Regions from separate parts of the Homo sapiens genome. Here regions 2, 3 and 4 are each linked to region 1. Evidence: promoter capture Hi-C in 16 types of primary human blood cells and fetal thymus (Javierre and others, 2016). All regions are on one chromosome and are shown on one strand. The core of a region is centred on a gene start or on the middle of the fragment in contact, and the rest is flanking DNA. Distances in the headings are between cores, read along the strand shown. Region 1 holds the start of CARHSP1 (calcium regulated heat stable protein 1). Region 2 has its middle 50 kb from the start of TMEM114. Region 3 has its middle 8.6 kb from the start of TMEM114. Region 4 has its middle 22 kb from the start of TMEM114.

The links. Contacts are between HindIII fragments. The CHiCAGO score rates a contact against its expected background, and 5 or more counts as called.
Region 2: a fragment that was not itself captured here is called in contact with the fragment with the promoter of CARHSP1 in region 1 in 5 of 17 cell types (monocytes, M0 macrophages, erythroblasts and 2 more); the score reaches 7.1 in monocytes.
Region 3: a contact is called between a fragment that was not itself captured here and the fragment with the promoter of CARHSP1 in region 1, in 13 of 17 cell types (naive CD8 T cells, neutrophils, total CD4 T cells and 10 more). The highest score is 19.3, in naive CD8 T cells.
Region 4: a fragment that was not itself captured here is called in contact with the fragment with the promoter of CARHSP1 in region 1 in 17 of 17 cell types (non-activated CD4 T cells, total CD4 T cells, monocytes and 14 more); the score reaches 45.5 in non-activated CD4 T cells.

What each region holds. Positions count from the first base shown.
Region 1 is chr16:8,867,658-8,870,469 of GRCh38, reverse strand. It overlaps CARHSP1 (calcium regulated heat stable protein 1), which reads left to right and starts at 1,464. Exons shown (of 4, transcript NM_014316.4): 1 at 1,464-1,504. CARHSP1-DT (CARHSP1 divergent transcript) reads right to left here and starts at 1,189. Exons shown (of 2, transcript NR_186721.1): 1 at 1,142-1,189; 2 at 431-857. RefSeq lists a silencer at 1,142-2,101 and an enhancer at 2,242-2,301. The HindIII fragment of the contact is 19,717 bases long and covers 1-2,812 here.
Region 2 is chr16:8,539,231-8,541,930 of GRCh38, reverse strand. It overlaps a transcript of TMEM114 not described here. Among named protein-coding and RNA genes, the nearest start is that of TMEM114, 50 kb to the left of the region's middle. The HindIII fragment of the contact is 1,990 bases long and covers 364-2,353 here.
Region 3 is chr16:8,597,795-8,600,494 of GRCh38, reverse strand. No RefSeq gene overlaps it. Among named protein-coding and RNA genes, the nearest start is that of TMEM114, 8.6 kb to the right of the region's middle. The HindIII fragment of the contact is 253 bases long and covers 1,296-1,548 here.
Region 4 is chr16:8,566,686-8,569,437 of GRCh38, reverse strand. It overlaps a transcript of TMEM114 not described here. Among named protein-coding and RNA genes, the nearest start is that of TMEM114, 22 kb to the left of the region's middle. The HindIII fragment of the contact is 2,900 bases long and covers 1-2,717 here.

The DNA of each region.
Region 1 (2,812 bases), core at 215-2,714:
TTTAATAGAGACGGGGTTTCCCCGTGGTCTCGTTCTCCTGACCTCGTGATCCGCCCGCCTCGGCCTCCCAAAGTGCTGGGATTACAGGCGTGAGCCACCGCGCCCGGCCTATTTATTTATTTTTAACTTTTTTTCCCCCCCGAGACGGAGACTCGCTGTCGCCCAGGCTGGAGTGCAGTGGCATGATCCTGGCTCACTGCAACCTCCACCTCCCGGGTTCAAGTGATTCTCCTGCCTCAGTCTCCCAAGTAACTGGGATTACAGGCACCCGCCACCAAGCCCGGCAAATTTTTGTATTTTTCATAGACACGGGGTTTCGCCATGTTGGCCAGGCTGGTCTCCAACTCCTGAGCTCAAGTGATCCTCCTGCCTCGGCCTCCCAAAGAGCTGGAATTACAGGCGTGAGCCACCGCACCCGGCCTCAAGTAAATTTTTGTGTGGACAAACATTTTTATTTCTCTTGGGCGCGCAGACACCTAGGAGTGGAGTTGATGGGTTTTATGGAGACTCCAGGGCTCGTGGTTTGAGGAACCGCCGGGCTTTTTCCACAGCAGCTGCGCGGTTGTTCCCACCAGCCGTCTAGGACGGTTCCTTGCCTGGCTTGGACTAGTTGGTTTCGCTGCTGGGCCTTTTCCCCAGTGGCCCCAATAGGGGCTGCAGAGTGAGGCAGGCACAGTCCTCACCGCCGCCTCCGGGGGCCCTGTTGTCCCGGGCGAGCTCCGGGGACCTCTCTCCTTCCCCGCGCCCCTCAAATACCAAGCTGACCCTGGTCCCGGGATCTAGGCTCGCCTTCAGGGGCTGCTCTCGACTGGCCGTGCCCATGGGCTGGTCGCCTCTCTGTGCCTCAGTTTCCTCTCCTGCAAAACAGAGGTAACATTTTTTACCTCCAAAAACAGAGGACTCAAGGAAGGCTAGAAATGAAACAAGAGAAGAGAACAAAATCAAAATCCCCAACGAGAAAACAAAACCCTGTTTTTCTGGTGTGTGTGTGCGTGTGTATTTTTTCTTTCCCTTTTCCTCCTTTCTGTTTTTTGCTTGTTTTCTTCCGTCTCTCTTTTCATTCCTTTATTTCCTTTCTGCTAAAAGTGACACCCTCCGGGATTATACAGATTTTAGAGCCAAAGGCAGGTGGGAGCCGCACCTGGCGCGCGTGGCGAGGGGAAGGAACTGCACGGGCGCAGGGACACAGTTCCCCCACTTTGCAGGGGCGTTTTCTGCTGGTGGGTGCAGCCCAGCTCCGCCCCGCCCCGCCCCGCCCCGGCCCCTACGTCCCGCGCTCTGCGTTCCGCTCTCCCGCCAGTCTAAGGCGCGGACACAAAGGTCCTGTCCGGGCCACTCCCGCCCCGCCCGCCCCCACCGTCCCGGGCTCCCTCCCGCAGCCCCATTGGCCGGGAGCTCCTGGGGGCGGGGATCGGCGCCCCACCCCCCCTCGGGCCACGCCCCCTCCCCAGCTCCGCGCTCTCAGTCGGAGCGAAGCGGCTGGCGGAGCAGAACGGATTGCAGGGTAGGGAGCTCTTCTCGGGGACCCCAGGATAGGCGCCCCTGGCCCGCGGCCCCGGGAGCCGCAGGGGTGGGGCCTCGGCCTCCTCTGCCTCCATCGTCCCCCATCCTGCAGGGTCTTCTAGCTCGGCAGAGGAGGGCTCCGGGCTGGGTTTCTCGGGGCCTGTTTGGGGAACGCGGGTTGCTCCTCCCCAGGGGAAGGGGTGGGTGTGGCAACAGCGGCAAGGATTCTAGGCGGACGTCGGGTAGTACTTCCCGCCTGGCCACCTGTTCTCTGCGTGCAGGGGAAGCTCTTCCCGCCCTCCCCGCTGCTTTTGCCTTTGGGCGGGAGCCCTGGACGGGGGACTCGCCGGGCGGTGGGGCGAGGCGCGGGGGGCGTCGCACGCGGGAAGCAGAGCCACCCCCCGCCGGGCCTGGCCGCGCCAGCTGTGGCTCGAGGTTGGGACGGCGGCCAGGCCCGGCGGGGGAGGTGGGGAGCCGTCCTGGCGCCGCGCGATTAGCCGCATCTGGGGGAGGAGGAGCCGCCGGGCGCGCTGGGCCCGGGTGTTTGCGCCCGGATGGGGGTGGGGGTGCCTTAGGCGCTGGAGAAAAACTTCACCCGCGCCCACAGGCCCCCTTTCCGCAGGCTGCGCTGGCGGTTCAGGTTTGCAGGCCGGAAGTGAAATGTTCTTTTTTGATTTTTAAAAAGGAAGCCTCCGGCCCTATGGTTTTCTGGGGTTGGAGTGGATGTGTGTGCTGGGGGAGGCGGAGACGTCCCGCTCCAGGCAGGGCCTTGGGTCTTAATAGGTGGGGAAATCTCTGCCAAATAGGAGGCCTCTCGGAGCCTCAGTTTCCCCATCTGCAGACTGGGCTCTGACTTCTTCTGGCATGAGAGGGTGTGTGAGAGTAAAAGGAGGCAGCTAGCCCCGTGCCGGGAGACACGTAAGCTACTGTTTTTTAACTTGCTGTTTTGATATTTCTCAGTCTCTCTGTGCCCAGTCTTGCTTGCCCCTGTCATTTGCTGCCACTCTGAAGCCAGAGGGAACTTAGAAAAACAATCCGCTTAGATCTACCCCACGCTGAAAATCGTCCACCGAAGTCCCATTGTCGTCTAAGTCCCCAACTTCTCAGCAGGGCTTCCTGTTATCTTCCGCCACTACCTTCTCCAGCCTCTCTCTGCCTCTGTTCTCCCTCCCTTCGGGCCTTTGGCCCTCCTCTGGGCTCGGGGTCCTCCTTGGAGACCCCACCGCCCTCTGCACTCCCTGGGTGGCCTCGGTGATGACCGTGAGTTCTCGATGCTGGTCCCTTCAGGGCAAGAAAGAGGCGCAGAGCC
Region 2 (2,700 bases), core at 109-2,608, 330 kb after region 1:
TGTTCTTGGAAAGAACAGGGGAATTGGAGCCTGTGCTACGTCTTTGTAAGCCAGACCCCTTTGATCCTCACCAGCCTGAACTCTTGGGCCCTGCAGAATTCTAGAATCTTCCCAGTTCCCAAGTGGAACCCTCTGCCAAGTAACCCCATACACAGACAGGCAAGGAATATAGTGGCTTATGTTGGGTTCTCTTTAGTTTATGATTTATTGATGGAGAATATGAAATTTTCATTAAAACAGACTGCTGTTTCTCACTCATTTGTCACATTTTTAATTTGTATTTTAAAACATTAATAAAACTGACACAATTAATTATTTTTCAAAATGTCAAATATATTGAAGATGTGGGACTGGAATGAAGCTTCATGTTGTAGCAGAATGAGGCATTGGTTCAAGAAAATGATCTCCTGGTTACACTGAGATCTTTCCCCTTCCTGAACCTTATGGTCAGACGAATTGTCTCTGATCTCTTAGTAGATATCACTGTTTACAAAGTGCTTTCATTTTTTTTTATCCTGAGATATTATCCAGTAGTGCTTGGGGAGGTCCTGGTTTATGTCTGTGGTCTTAGTATTATTAATAATGTAACCCTGGACTGTCCTCATTTGTATGACAAATTGTATGATGCTCTGAGTCCAGGACTGTGAGGGCTCTTGAGTAAGACATAAGTGGTTCACGTCCTTGGTAGCCACATGACCTCAAGCCTGTTTCCCCATTAGTAAAACGCAGAAAATAATAGCACCAACTTCATGGTATTGTCATGAGTTTAGACGATATGATATAATATGCCTGGCATATAGCAAGAGTTCAATATATGATTGCTGCCACTCTATTTGTGGTCATTATTATCATTAGACCCTGCATGGGGCTGGTCCAGACTTCGCTCTCAGCCTCACCTCACTCTACACTCCCCGTTGTAGTCTCTCTCTGGCAACTCTGGACTTCTTTCAGTTCCATGCGTATGTCTTTGCCACAGGGACTTTGCACCTGCTGCTTAGTCTTTTAACCTGAGTTCCATCTCAGCTCAAACTTTACTCTCCAGGGAAGCCTGCCCTGATACCTCTCATTAGATCAAGTCCTCCTGTTGTCAGCTCTTGAAACATCCTACATCTCTCTTCTGTAACAATTGTCATTGTCAAAATTTAGCAGTTATTCGTGTGATTCTTTGGTTTATGTCCATCTCTCCCACCAGTCTGTAAGCTCCAAGAAGATAGGAACTATGTCTGTCTTTGCTTACCACTGGTTCCCAGTACCTAGTGGAATGCTGAGCTATAGTGAGTGGTCAATAAAAATTGGTTCAGTGAATGAATTGAATTCTACTTCACCTGTTCTTATCAACTCCCAAGTCTCCCTGTCTTTTTCTGTATCTTTCATTGACTATCCAACCTTGGATAAAATGGGTGCTATTATAACAGTAATAATAGCTGAGATTTTTGGAGTGCTTGCTATATACCAGCTATTTTACTTGCATTATTTCATTGAACACTTATGACAATCTGATGAATTCAATGCAATCATCATCACTCTTATTTCACAGTTGAGGAAACTGAGGTTGATATAATGATACCCAGCAGGCGAGCGATCAGCTGGGATTCCTGCTCAGGTGGCTGGACTCCAGAGCTCCTACCTCTATCTGAGACTGTTCTATTCCTCCTATAAACTATTTTATGGAAAAGTAGTTCATCACTGTATCCTTAATCTCTAGCCAAGTGCTATATATATATTTATAGCAATTTGATAAATATGCACTCAATAACCTGATGTTTGAATGAATAAATACATTCTTATTATTAAATACCATATTTGTGGCCCGGCACAGCAGTTCAAGCCTGTAATCCCAGCACTTTGGGAGGCTGAGGCGGGTGGATCACCTTAGGCTGAGGTCGAGAGTTCAAGACCAGCCTGGTCAACGTGGTGAAACCCCATCTCTACTAAAAATACAAAAATCAGCCAGGCATGGTGGCATGTGCCTGTAATCCCAGCTATTCCAGAGGCTGAGGCAGGAGAATCGCTTGAATCTGGGAGGTGGAGGCTGCAGTGAGGAGAGATTGTTTCACTGCATTCCAGCCTGGGTGGCAGAGCGAGACTCTGTGTAAAAAAATAAAATAATTAAAAAAATAGCATATTTGTGAGTTGTAATTTTTTAAAGTTACTTCCATTTTTTTTTTCTTTTTTAGTTTAGGTTTTCTGTTACAATCTGGATATTGCTATGGGACATGAGATCTATATGAACAACATCTGTCTTGCTTGTGGTGGTGAATAAATATTTAAGGATCCCTGGGCCAGTTGCACGCAGAGTGCTTCCAGCTGATACAACCCCGAATCCCAGGATGGGATCTGGAAGAGTGAAGCTTCAGGGGTCATTTTCCTTGGATAAGGGAATTGGAGCGTGGGAGGATGGAAGGAGAGGGTGGTGTGAGCCTGCAGGGAAGATCTGTCCAGGCATGTGAGGCTGCTTGCAGGAGGCAGAGCCCTCCTCTGGGTCTGATGAGGGTCAGAGAGAGAAGGAGGCTTTGCGGAGCTGGAGCAGTCACTCGGGCCAGGGGCAAGTATTCTGGGTAAGTGGGTCTTGGGTTGGGATTCTGCTTCTAGCTTCTCTACCTCCCACCCCTCTATTCCCTTCTCAGAGGAAAAGGACTCCCGAATCTTGTGTCTTCCAGATCACATCCTGGAATTCAAGATTATATCAGCTGGAAGCAC
Region 3 (2,700 bases), core at 173-2,672, 270 kb after region 1:
CTAATCGTTCAGATTAATACCCGGGTAGCAACAACAGCCTTGAATTTGGAGCTAGGCCTGTGTTTAAATGCCAAGTCCATGCCTTATTAGCTGTGTGACCTTGCTGGGTCAAACTCTGAGCTGCCGTATGGCGTTTCGTAGGAGAGGGACTTGAGCTAATAGCTGGAGCTAATGTTTACTAGCTGTTTTTATGGGCTGCCTGAGACTCTGCTCAGGACTTGGCATGAGTGATTCCAAGTCATGTCCTTATAATCTCACAGTCAGGATTGTCTTTATGTCTTCTCTTCTTTCACTGTAGCCTTGACCTCCTAGGCTCAAGTGATCCTCCCACCTCAGCCTCTTAAGTAGCTGGGACCACAGGTGCTCACCACCACGTCCAGCTAATTTTTAAATTTTTTACTTGTAGAGAGGGGGTCTTACTATGTTGCCCTGGCTGGTCTCAAACTCCTGGGCTCTAGCCATCCTCCATGCCATGGCCTTCCAAGATCCTAGGATTATAGGTGTGAGCCACTATGCCCAGCCTGTCATATATTGTCTAATTTAATTTCGACGATAACTCTGTGAGTTTGGTATCGTTACTTTCATTCTTCTGAAGAGGAAAATGAAGTTCAGAGAACTAAAACTGTTGATCAGTGTCCCTTGGCAAATAAGGGGTGGAGGTGGCATTTGAAGTGAGGTTTCTTTGATACTTCAATTCTTTCCACTATATCTCTCACATTAAGCTATTGTCAGGCCATATGAGTTAATATTGACTGAGGCCAGGCCCCGTGGCTCATGCCTGTAATCCCAGCACTTTGGGAGGTCGAGGCGGGTGGACCCCTTGAGGCCAGGAATTGGAGACCAACCTGGCCAACATGGTGAAACCCTGTCTCTACCAAAAATACAAAAATTAGCTGGATGTGGTGTTGGGTGCCTGTAATCTCAGCTACTTGGGAGGCTGAGGCAGGAGAATCACTTGAACCGGGGAGGCAGAGTTTGCAGTGAGCCGAGATCACATCATTGCACTCCAGCTTGGGCGACAGAGCGAGACTCTGTCTCTAAATAAATAAATAAATATGGACTGAGTATCTCTTACATGTTAGTCTTGCTTTATGCTCTTTTACCGAAATGCATGAAACCAATCCCACATTCAAAGCATGGCTTTGAAGTTAGACAAGCTTGTGTTTGAATCCTGGATCCTGTACTTAATAGCTGTGTGATATTGATTCACTTACTCAACCTCTCTGAGCCTTGGTGTTTCTATCTGTAACATGGTTGCATTAGGCATACTTTTCTCCCAAAATTGATGTGAAGCTTCAAACAGGAATGTGCCTGATGTGCCTGCCCCATTGTCACAATCCAGCACATATCAGCTATCACTGGAATAGATTCCTAGAGAAGGGCTTTTACTAGCCCCTCTTACAGATGAGGAAACTGAGGCCCAGAAAGGAGAAGTAACCAGATCAGGACCTTTCAGCAGGCTAGTGGCAGAGCTGGTGCTGGAACCCAGCTGTCCTGGTTCCTGGTCTAAATTCTTTCCCTTCGGCTGTGTGATACCTGAAAGAAGCTTCTCTCTGGTTGAGGATTTTTATTCCAATTTGGGAAGAAGTTTCCCCAAAGAAAGAGAGCTCAGACCCAGGCTTTAATCTCTTGGTGTTATGCCAGGTGGGTAATGGCAAAATTAGACCAGTGGGTTACTGATCTCTTTTCATTTTAAGCTAATTACATCACCTAGGGTATGGAGAGTGGCAGCTAGCTCTTCTAGATGTCCTTAATGGACGGATAAAGGCTTTACACTTAAATGGTTATGCACAGGTCAGGTCCAGGGAGTCCAGTTCACCAGCAGAACATCATGACTTCATGAAACTTAATACAGAGAGGAGGCATTTCTCTCTAGTGCAGCAATCTTAATAACTGTACCACATCCCAGCTATATTTCTAAAGCCTTCAGCTGGTTCCTTACAGTTCCTTACAGCCCCACAAAATAAGCTCTGTGCTTGCAAGAAGAGACTTTTTGCAGGATTCGTTTATTAAATCAACAAATTTCTATTACACACATACTGTGTGTCACATACTAACCCCGAAGCCAATGATGCCCATTGGATAGCACCAATGCAATCCCTGTCTGCATCAATTCACAATGCATTCCGTTGCAAATAGCAGACAACTCTAAGTTAATGGCTTAATAGATAAGGGTTCATTTTTATCTTGTAACAAGAATTCTGGAGGTAGGCAAATCAAAGATGGGGCAATGATACTATTGGGTGTTCATATGTTCAGTCAATGGAGAGTTGCAAAGTTCAATGATACTATTGGGTGCTCAAGTCTCTGCCGCTTTCTGTTTTTGCCATCACGGATGGTTTATCCTCGTGTTTGCAAAATAGCTGCTGCACTTCTAGACATCACATTTACATTCCAGATGGACAAAAAGCCTTCTCCCAAGGCCTTGTCGTTTTGCTTGGGGGAGCCATTCCCAATAGACTCTGTGTCTATCTGATTGGTCTGAATTATGTCACATGGCCACTACTGGCTGGAACGGATCTAGAAATGTGAAAGGGAAGTGAATCTGAATGGTGTTGAGTGAGCCATCCTATAGTATCTAGCATATTGCCTGAATGAGGTTTATAGTCCAAAGGAGCAGACACGTAGCTAGCAAATAACTTCATTGTTAAGTATTCCTTAATTACTATTAGGAAGGTCTCTTTGAAGGTGTAAGAGTGC
Region 4 (2,752 bases), core at 18-2,517, 300 kb after region 1:
TGTCCCTTGGATCAGCTCCTTGGTGGGTCTGGGAAAGGGAGAGGGTGCCCTACCTCCTGGGCCCTGTAATGCGTTCAGCTCTCTCTGGGGAGCTCTGGCCTGGAGTTCCTTTTGCTCTAAAATAACTCTGGCATGACATGGGCTTTCTACGGGGTCAGGTTAGGTCTACAATATGAAGCTGCGAGACTCCCAAGGGGTTGGCCAATTGATAGAGCACTCTTCAAGACTAATCATACCTTTTCCGTCCTCCCCCAGAAAAATCCATCCCTCCTTTCATCCTGGTGTTCTGCCCCTGGGAATGGGCTCCCCATCCGGGTCCCCTGGGGCAGTGCTGTTCACATTTAGCGCGCCCCAGACTCTATGGGCTTGTTGATACTCTCGGGCTGATGCCACCCCCAGGGTGTCTGAGCCAGGAGGCCTGGGTGAAGCCCAAAAACTCACATTTCTAAGTGGCTTCCAGGCGATGCCGAGGCTTCTGGCCCAGAGCCACTGTTTGCATAAATGCCGAGGTGGGGCGTTTATTAAGTGACAGAGAAGGGTTGTCATCTTGCTGCTCTTAGAATCACCTGGGTATCTTCCAAAAATCCTGCTGCTGTCTACATCCTTGATCTGATATTCTCTAGGGCTGGTGTCCAGGCATCAGTGTTTTTTAAGAGCTCTCCAGCCTATTCTAACCCAAAACCATGGCTGAGATTCTGTTCCTGCAAGATTCCAAGTCATGAGATGTAGGGGAGGGCCCGAGGAGCCTTTGGCTTAGGAAACTCTGGGAGGTGCTGATGGTTTGGGGAATACTGGTGTGGATTAAAAGATGACAACACGATTATCAACAATATGGCATCATCGTCTTCATCATGACATCATCATCACCATGACGTCAACACTGTCATCATCATAGCTGACACCCACTGAGTACTTTCTATGCACCTGTGCTATTCTCCATGCCAGTCGGTCAGTCAGTCATTCAACAAACATCATGACATCATCACCACCATGCCATGACATCACCACCACAACGACATGACACCACCATGACATCAGCATTGTCATCATTATAGCTGACATCCACATCTATGCACCTGTGCTATTCTCCACGCCAGTCGGTCAGTCAGTCATTCAACAAACACTCAAAGGAAGGCCAGTACACACCAGCAACTGGGGGGGCAATGACTCCTCCAGACCCAGACCTTGCTCTCTGGGGTGCCACATGATTGAGGAGAGAGAGGCATATGAAATACGTAGCCCGTGGTGAGGACTAGGAGATAAGCAAAGCAGGGTACAGATGAGGAAACTGAGGCACTGGCAGGTTAACATAACTGGACTAAGGGCATAAGGAGAGAAAGGGACGCAACTGGGAGTAAACTTCAGAACTGCCTGATCCCAAGATGGTCCTCCCCCTACTTCCACCAACGCCTGCACTTCTTTACTGGCTGTCTGCTCCTTTCAGGACGTTGCTGCGACGTCCCTGTCTAATCCGGAAAGGCGCAAAAGGAGTGGGTTACTCACATGGCCACATGGGGCTAAATGAGCGCTGTTGGAAAATCAGTTACAATGCTGGGGAAAACAAAGTTTTTGCAAAGTGAGGGCAACCATGCTACCGAAAGGGCGGTCTCTGCTTCCACCTGCTGGTCGTATTGTGGAACTGCTCCAGAGGCAGGATTTGATCCCCAAATTCGTCAAGAGACACGTTTTCAGCCCTCCTAGCGCCCAAGTGCTGGATTAAATACTGCAGGGCCAGAGTTCTCAGCTGGGGCGATTCTCTCCCCCACCTGACATTTGGCAGTGTTTGGAGACAGTTTTGGTTGTTCTTAGTGCGTGTGGGGAGTGGTATTACCGGCAGCTCCAGTGGGAAGAGGCCAGGGATGCTCCTCGCATCCTATGATGCTCAGGACATCTGGTCCCACACGTCCACCTTGGGACATGCTGAGACACTCTGCTAAGCGAGCAATAATGGACAATAACAAACCAAAACATGTGTGCACCTCAGGAACTGACAACACAGAATAAGCTCATTCATTCGCCCATCCATTCATGCATTTGATAAATGCTTGCCAGATACCTACAGTGTCAGAGACTGTTCCAGGGCCTGGGGACACATTCATGGGGGTGGCCAAGAAAATCTCCACCCTTCCTAGCTCACATGGGAACAGATGATAAACCCATGAACCAATAATCTATCTGAGAGATTCAGACAGTGATTAGTGTTATGAAGAAAACAAAACAGGGTGATGAGGCCGGGCGCCATGGCTCATGCCTGTAATCCCAGCACTTTGGGATGCCAAGACAGGCAGGTCACCTGAGGTCAGGAGTTCGAAACTAGCCTGGCCAACATGGTGAAACCCCATCTCTACTAAAAATACAAAAAAAAAAAAAATAGCCAGCTGTGGTAACACGCGCCTGTAATCCCAGCTACTTGGGAGGCTAAGGCAGGAGAATCACTTGAACCCAGGAGGTGGAGGTTACAGTGAGCCGAGATCGCACCATTGCGCTCCAGCCTGGGTGACAGAGTGAGACTCCATCTCAAAAAAAAAAAAAAAAAAAAACCAGGGTGATGGGATGAAAGGTGTCTGGTAGAGATGTGACTCCAGGAAGGACAATTAGAAAGGGCTTCTTGGAGGAGGTGACATTGTGCTGAGACCCGCATGAAGAACCTGTAGGTAGGGAAACTGCAGACCAGGCAGGTGACAGCAGACGCAAAGGCCCTGAGGTGGGAAGAAGCTTCTGTGTTAGAGGGAAATGAAGAGGGAGGGTTGAT